Regions from separate parts of the Homo sapiens genome. Here region 2 is linked to region 1. Evidence: promoter capture Hi-C in 16 types of primary human blood cells and fetal thymus (Javierre and others, 2016). All regions are on one chromosome and are shown on one strand. The core of a region is centred on a gene start or on the middle of the fragment in contact, and the rest is flanking DNA. Distances in the headings are between cores, read along the strand shown. Region 1 holds the start of PIWIL3 (piwi like RNA-mediated gene silencing 3). Region 2 overlaps KIAA1671.

Region 1 (4,224 bases), core at 243-2,742:
TAGTTTAAATTCTGAAACAAAACTGATAATAGTCCTTTCCTGAAAAAAAGACGCTTCTTGCGTGGGGAACTGTCCTGCCTTTGTAGGACTAACAAATTAGCTACAAGATGAGAGATTACGGCTTAGGGGCCATGCAGCTTCTGGCCGCAAGAGTCTGAACCTCCCCAAGTTGCTTCTGGGAATAAAATCTCCGTTGCAAAACTTAAGATCAGTGCTTGAGATATTTTGCATACCCTGAATTCCGATGCAGCAGATGACACCACCCAGACTGATAATCTGGCTCAACCAGTCCTGCGATCTCATCCAGGAAGAGAAATCAGCAAGAACTCACTTCCACCCCCATGATTCCATCTCCAACCCGACCAATAAGCACTCCCTACTTCCTGAGCCCATACCCACCAAATCATTTTTAAAAACTCTGATCCCCGACTGGGCATGGTGGCTCACGCCTGTAATCCCAAGGTGGGTGGATCACTTGAGGTCAGAAGTTTGAGATCAGCCTGGCCAATATCATGAAACCCCGTCTCTACTGAAAATACAAAAATTAGCCTGGTGTGGTGGCATGCACCTGTAATCCCAGCTACTCAGGAGGCTGAGTCAGGAGAATCGCCTGAACCCGGGAGGCGAAGGCTGCAGTGAGCAGAGATCACATCACTGCACTCTAGCCTGGACGACAGAACGAGACTCCATCTCAATAAATACATAGAGATATAAATAAAATAAAATAAAATAAAGTTTCTTAAAAAAAATAGGAAATCTCCTGAAAAACCTTTTCAGAAAAATAGCCACAGGTGCATGTTTGGCTCGTGTTTTTCCCAGAAACAACCTAAATCTGGCTTGATAAACCTTGATTGATGTATTTGCCCCAGTCACTCATGTTGTAACCAGCAAAAGGGCCCAGCTGCTCACTGCTTGTAGAAAGAAGTCAAAATGATAATGACATGTGATTTAAAAAGAAAGAATTTTATAATCTATGCTAGCAAGGGCAAGAGCAGAGAGCAATTCCACTCTTCCACGTGAGGAAAGAACGCAGGGGTTTTTTTTGTTTGTTTTTTGCGACGGTGTCTTGCTCTGTCGCCCAATCTGGCTGGAGTGCAGTGGCGCAATCTCAGCTCACTGCAACCTCCGCCTTCTGAGTTCAAGCGATTCTCCTGCCTCAGCCTCCCGAGTTGCTGGGACTACAGGCACATGCCACCATGCCCAGCTGATTTTTTGTATTTTTAGTAGAGACGGGGTTTCCCCGCGTTAGTCAGGATGGTCTCCATCTCCTGACCTCGTGATCCTCCGGCCTTGACCTCCCAAAGTGCTGCGATTACAGACGTGAGCCACTGCGCTCGGATGAACGCAGGGGTTTTTATTTATTTTATTTTATTTTTTAAGATATTTATTTATTTGTTTATTTTTTGAGACAGAGTCTCACTCTTTCACCCGGGCTGGAGTGCAGTGGCGTGATCTCGGCTCACTGCAAGCTCCGCCTCCCGGGTTCACGCCATTTTGCTGCCTCAGCCTCCCGAGTAGCTGGGACTACAGGTGCCCGCCACCACGCCCGGCTAATTTTTTGTATTTTTAGTAGAGATAGGGTTTCACTGTGTTAGCCAGGATGGTCTCCATCTCCTGACCTCATGATCTACCCGCCTCAGCCTGCCAAAGTGCTGGGATTACAGGCGTGAGCCACCGCGCCCGGCCAAAGCGGTTTTTAAAGGGAGGATTTGGAAGGCAAAAGAGGCAGGGGGACTGGGAGGTGTCAGGTGGTGTGACCCCCTCCAGTGGCTTGTCCTGAATTATTTTTCCATCTGTGGAAGTGGCCGGCGTCATCATGGCTGGAGGAGGTGCATGGTTCGTATCAGGATCTGACTACTGAAGCTTCTAAGGAAATATGTGACCAGATAAGTGAGTATGGTGTGTGCTTACCAAACAACTAGGTAAATAAATGTGCATAAGGCATGGGGGCATAGAACAGGAAAAGAAAGGGGGTGGAGGTTCACAGCACATTCCAAGGCTGGATTTCAAGAGGAGAGGAAACACGTCTATACTTTGTCTAAGTTACATCTTCAGATTAGCAGAAGAGAGGAAAGGGGAAAGGAAAAAAAGTTTTAAAATGCGGTTTGAGGTTAGGCTGCTAAGCTGCTGGGTTACAGATTCAGCTTATATTTGAGCATGTGGAGTATGTATATTTATTTTAAAAATCTAGAGCATCTTGGTCAGCCACAGTGGCTCATGCCTGTAATCCCAGCACTTTGGGAGGCTGAGGCGGCTGGACCATGAGGTCAGGAGTTCAAGACCAGCCTGGCCAAGATGGTGAAACCCCGTCTCTACGAAAAATACCAAAATTAACTGGGCGCAGTGGCGGGTGCCTGTAGTCCCAGCTACTTGGGAGGCTGAGGCAGGAGGATTGCTTGAACCTGGGAGGCGGAGGTTGCAGTGAGCCAAGATCGCACCACTGTACTCCAGCCTGGGCAACAGAGTGAGTGAGACTCCCATCTCAAAAAAAAAAAAAAAAAAAAAAAATCTAGAGTGTCTTGTACATATCCTTTAATAACCTACTTTTAAAAACTTAATATATTTTAGATACATATGTATATGTGTACCTACTTACATCCTTAAAACTGACGTGATGATAAATAAAACCGCGGAATTTCTATCAATATGTAAATGCTCTTCTCAGAAAAGGCGGGCTCTTTGCTCCTGTGGTTGATGGGGATGATGCAGATGGTGGCAGAGGCTTCCATTTTTTGAGCATTCGTTGTGGGACCTGCCAGTGCTTCAAGCTCAATACACCTTCTCCCATTTAACCCTCACAGCTCAGGAGGGGGTCCTGCCGGGACCTCCACTGCAGACAGGAAAAGAGGAGAAAGTTGGTATCTTCTGAATTCTTTTGGCAAAAGGAGAAGGGAAGAGGGTTCCTGTGCAGGGCATGCAGGAAGGCAGGAGTATGGAAAAGGGGGAAGGGACAGTGTGTAATGCCCTCCCTGCTGAGCCACATGGTTGGAATGGAGCATCACAGCAGAGATGGCAGAGCCAGAAACCCTAGGATCCGGTGTCAGAGGGACACAGGGCCCAGCTGCCAATGTGTGGCCCAGAGCAGTGGAGGACACCTTGGTTATGCCCTGGCACACAGCTTTCTACTGTCCTGGCATCTAAGCCCTGGGGACTGGGGCAGTGGGGTCAGTGCCCTCAGCTGGACACAGACACGTGGAGCAGAACTTGAAAAAGATGGGCCCCTGAGCCCATAGGACCCAGAGACCCAGCACCCAGGGAGGCCTGGGGAGGGAGAAGGACGCCCTCAGCTAGCACATGGGGGCTTGAGGTCCAGATAACTGTTAAGGTACCTCATCTGATCTCCCCACAGGGGACACCCGGCACATGCAGGCCTCCTTCCTGACTTCTCTGCCAACCTTTTCCCCAGCCTTAAAACTTTCTCTTCCCGATGTCATTGTGACACTTCTTCAGTTCTCCTTCTAGTCCACTAGATGCTGCTGTGCACCCACCTAAGCACCACCATTTCTAATTCCTGGGATCCTAGTTTGGGAAAGACAGGGGAGCTGGTCAGCCGTTCGGATTTCCCAGTGGGTAGAATGGAGACTGCAGCCTTTGCCAGGGCTCTTCTCCACTGTGGTAGTGATTTTAACTCCAGTAGCTGTAACTTGCTGAGCACTCAGCACCTGCTGAGCTCTTTGCACAGATTGGCTCCTGTAACCCCCACAGGCCCCTGTGACATAAGTTTTCAATACCCAACATACTAGGAAACAGGGTCTCAGAGAGATGATATCACCTGCTCAGGGTCACACAGCACATACCTGGACAGGCTATGATTCCACAAAGGTTTTTGTCTAAGTCCAAATGCCAGGGACATAATATTGTCCTGTTGCTCATAGAAGTTGCTATTTAATGAGCTCCTATTATGCAGACTTTATTCCTTCAATATAAGATTTACTTACATTGTGAAATATACAACTACTTAGTACTTAATACTTATATTGATAAGATTTACTTCTCTTTATTAATATGATTATCAAATCTAAGGGTTTAATCTTTCATTCTGTTTAAAATTTAACACTGCTTCTTTTGTAATTGCTGCTTTTGATATGATAATAATTCTTACTGTTTGGTGCATTTATGATATACACTGTGTTATCGAATGTATTCCAGTAAGAGTAGGCTACCAACACAGTTCTGTTGGCCAACTGAGCACTATAGCTTGTTCATTAAGAGAAATAGGCCGGG
Region 2 (4,040 bases), core at 301-2,800, 250 kb before region 1:
CCTTCCAGATGCCATAAAAAGAAGCCATTCTCATTTTTCTCACTCAACCTGCTTTCATTATTTGTTTGCTTTGTGGTTCTTTTCTGTTGAACACGCATATTATGCTGACTGCCTTCATACTCTTAATAGAAAGAGAAACGCCCAACAGTGAGGTCTTCCCATGAGTGAGATCTCGAGCTATGCCACATGCTTCTTGTGTTTTATACATCTCATCCTCCTCACAACCCTATTTAGTGGGTACAATTAGGAGACCCCATTTTGTAGTAGCTTGGGGCATAAGCCTCTTGTTCACCCTGCTATGAGATCTGTTTTCGCAAAGCAGGGGACCTCCTCTCTCATTAACCCTCCAGCAACTCCAAAAGTCAAGAATGAAGGAATGATCGTTATCTCCCTCATGGAGATGAAGGGAAAGGGCCCAGAGAGGTCGCCAGACTTGCCTACGATCACCCAGCTGAAACCTAACCTCAAGTCCACCACCCACTTAGCTCTGTCTTTTTTTTTTTTTGAGACCAAGTTTCACTCTTGCTGCCCAGGCTGGAGTGCAATGGCGCGACCTTGGCTCACAGCAACTTCTGCCTCCCAGGTTCAAGCCATTCTCCTGCCTCAGCTTCCGGAGTAGCTGGGATTACAGGCATGTGCCACCACGCCCAGGTAATTTTGTGGTTTTAGTAGAGGTGGGGTTTCTCCATGTTGGCCAGGCTGGTCTCGAACTCCTGACCTCAGGGGATCCGCCCACCTCAGCCTCCCAAAGTGCTGAGATTACAGGCTTGAGCCACCACACCCAGCCTCAGCTCTGTCTTTTTAAAAATTATTTTTTATTCCTTTCTGGTCTTAAAAAGTGCCAGGTAAGTTGCTGTTCTCGATCCCCCAGGCTCTCTTCATGCCAGTGTTTTCTTCCCTGTGAAACTGCCCCCAGCCAGCCCCCACCTAGATGGACTAAAAAAGTAGAAGGTATTTTAGTTAAACACAAGCCTCTCCACTTCCCTTCCTTGGGGCCCCACACTGCTCCCCCGGCTCTGACTCACTCAGCAGCCTCCAGGAAAGAAAGGCAGACAGATTTTGATATTTTCTCTTCCTTACACGCTCGATGGTGCTAACAGATTCCATCTCCCCAAACTGGAGAACACTGTCTAGACACGGTTAGAGGTAGAATGGAGGGACAGATATGAAGAATCTGAGAATTGGAGAATTTCCATACACAAAGATCCCAACCAGAGTTCTAAGGCTCCAGAATCCCACCCAGAATCAGGGCCATTGGCCTTTTGGGAGAGCAGCTGTGACCTCTGGAAACCCTGATTGAGGATACATATGTAATAGCCAGGACATGAGACACAGAACAATGACAGGATTCAAAGGACAGAGAGAAAATTCTCTGGCAGAACTCACAGGCACTCTCCATGCCCTTGGACACTCCAGCCCTCAAGCTTGGGTCAAGCATGGGCCCCACTTACCCAAGCTGGCAGGCCCTGGGTCAGGGGGTGTGACTGCCGGGAAAAGCCAGTAGTGTCACATGTCATCATGAATGGGGCTGTCCACACACTTCCATGGCAGAAACAAGAAGGGGGAAAGAAGACTCGTCCCAGCAGGCTGAGTTTCAGCAGGTCTAAGGAGACACAGGATGACAGCCTCAGTTCCGGAGTTCTGGCAGTATGGGAACAGACGGCACAAAAGCTTTCAAGCTCCAAATGCATCCGCTGGCATCTACTCCAGCTTGTAAAACGTATGCTCCTTTTGGCTTTTCGATTTTGTAGCCTTATATGTACGTGTGCATAAATAGTGCTGAGCCCACAGTACGTGCTCAATAAAAATCTTCCCTGTTCTCTGATACATTTATTAAGCACCTACGGTGTGTACAAAGATGAGCATGAAACATCCCCTGCAACCATGCAACTCACAGTCTTCTGTAAGAAACACACATACACACACAAGCAATTACAACTGGGTAACAAATGTCACTTTTTAAATGCAGGATGTGGGGGCAAATAGGACTGATTGCCTAGAATTGGAACTGGTGGTCCTGCATAACTCACTTGACTTAGAGGAGGTAGCTACTGAGCATTCGAGGTGCTGACTCACTTGGTAGCTGCTACCAAGTGATGTGCTTCACTTGGTAGCTGCTACCAAGTGATGTGCTTCACTTGGTAGCTACATTAGCGGTATTTGGACATTGTACCTCTTTGAAGCCCTCCAAATGCCTCCTCAGGGCCTTTGCACATGCTATGCCTGTTCTCTGGGACAACCATCTTGCTCACACACAGACACAGACCACAGTTCACACATCTCTGTCTCCCTTCAACCCGGTACAACCCCCTCCTACCTGTTCACAGAGCACCACATACACTCGGAGGCTTGGCAGGACTTAGCATAGCTACACTGTTACATTTAATACGACATCATCCTTCACATCAGCCTCTCCCATTCAATGGTAAGCCCCGCCAGAGGACACCCCAAATCCCTAGTGGCTAGCACAGCAGCCTGGCACATAAAAGCACCAGATACATGATTACTGAATAGAGAAATAAATCATTGCTGAGTTAATAAGTAAATGAATGAAGAAATATTCTTCTGCCCCTGCTGCCCACTCTCTAAGATGCTAAATAAGTCCAGATACCATGAGTCTCATGCCAAATGACTCTAAGCAATCTGGGACATAAGATGAGTTACTCTAGCTGTGGCTGTGGCTACTGAATGACAGAATCAAAAAGCTGTGAAGTGCTCAGCCAGAGGCTCAATCCACCAATCCTCACCCAGGGACCCCTATCAGTTTCACAAGCCAGAGGCTCAATCTACCAACCCTCACCCAAAGACCTCTATCAGTTTCACTGGGCCACACAGAGGAGCTCCACCCCGAGGGCAGGCACCTGCTACATCCACATTAACCTCACACTGTCACACCAGCTCACCTGCCCAAATGTGGAATGAATGCTTCTCTGCATGGATTTTCCTGGGAAAAGAGTCACCAAGAGCAACTGTTTGCTGAATTAGGATCAATGGTACACAAATGTCACCCCACTTTGGGAACCTTGAACCCACCTCAGGGACTATACTGCATGGAAGTAAAAGGAGAAGGACAAGATAAATTAAGTCCCTTGGTCCACGCTCCTCTACACCAAACAGTGCCTCTGTGACCCGTCATCTGCTTTGTATCTTGAACTGCCTCTCAAGTTACCATTGCAAATGCCTAGCAGATGTCTGATATGTAAACACAGTTGCACAAATGAGTCAATGAATGAATTAATAAATCAATGAACAAAGAAAAGTAAAAGGAGTTTTTTGGGATTTTTTTTTTTTGAAACAGAGTTTCACTCTGTCACCCAGGCTGGAGTGCAATGGCGTGATCTCAGCTCACTGCAACCTCTGCCTCCCAGGTTCGAGCAATTCTCCCGCCTCAGCCTCCTGAGTAGCTGGGACTACAGGTGCATGCCACCACACCTGCCTGATTTTTATATTTTTGGTAGAGACGGGGTTTCACTATGTTGGCCAGGCTGGTCTTGAAATCCTGACTTTGTGATCCGCCCGCCTCGGCCTTCCAAAGTGCTGGGATTGAGCCACCGCACCCGGCCTAGTAAAAGGAGTTTTTAAACCACCATAGTAGATGGCTCCGTAATATTTTAAAGTCCTAGCCAAACCTAGAAACCTATGATTCTCAGGTTTTCATTTAACCTGCTGTAAAATACAGGGAAACCAATTTAACTGTATGCTTTGAAGTCTTCTTTTAAATGTTATCACATATGTTACACTTGATTTAAGAGATGTTAGCCTCTTTGAAAACCTTTCTGAAGCCCACTCACGGAGAGGCTAGATGCTGTTTATTCTTGGGGTGGACATGTCCACTATTTTTTATTTATTTTATTTTTTATTTTTATATTTTTAGACAGTCTCACTTTGTAGCCCAGGCTGGAGTCCAGTGGCACAATCTCGGCTCACTGCAAACTCCACCTTCCAGGTTCAAGTGATTCTCGTGCCTTAACCTCCGTGAAGCTGGGATTACAGGCACCTACCACCACATCTGGCTGTTTATTTATTTAGAGACAGAGTCT

Evidence for each region. The method cuts DNA at HindIII sites, captures the fragments that hold promoters and counts their contacts. A CHiCAGO score of 5 or more calls a contact.
Region 2: a contact is called between a fragment that was not itself captured here and the fragment with the promoter of PIWIL3 in region 1, in 4 of 17 cell types (M0 macrophages, erythroblasts, M1 macrophages and 1 more). The highest score is 6.8, in M0 macrophages.

What each region holds. Positions count from the first base shown.
Region 1 is chr22:24,771,988-24,776,211 of GRCh38, reverse strand. PIWIL3 (piwi like RNA-mediated gene silencing 3) reads left to right here and starts at 1,492. Exons shown (of 21, transcript NM_001255975.1): 1 at 1,492-1,890. The HindIII fragment of the contact is 5,025 bases long and covers 1-1,865 here.
Region 2 is chr22:25,023,196-25,027,235 of GRCh38, reverse strand. It overlaps KIAA1671, which reads right to left. Exons shown (of 13, transcript NM_001145206.2): 2 at 1,452-1,603. Among named protein-coding and RNA genes, the nearest start is that of KIAA1671, 72 kb to the right of the region's middle. RefSeq lists an enhancer at 89-1,288. The HindIII fragment of the contact is 247 bases long and covers 1,427-1,673 here.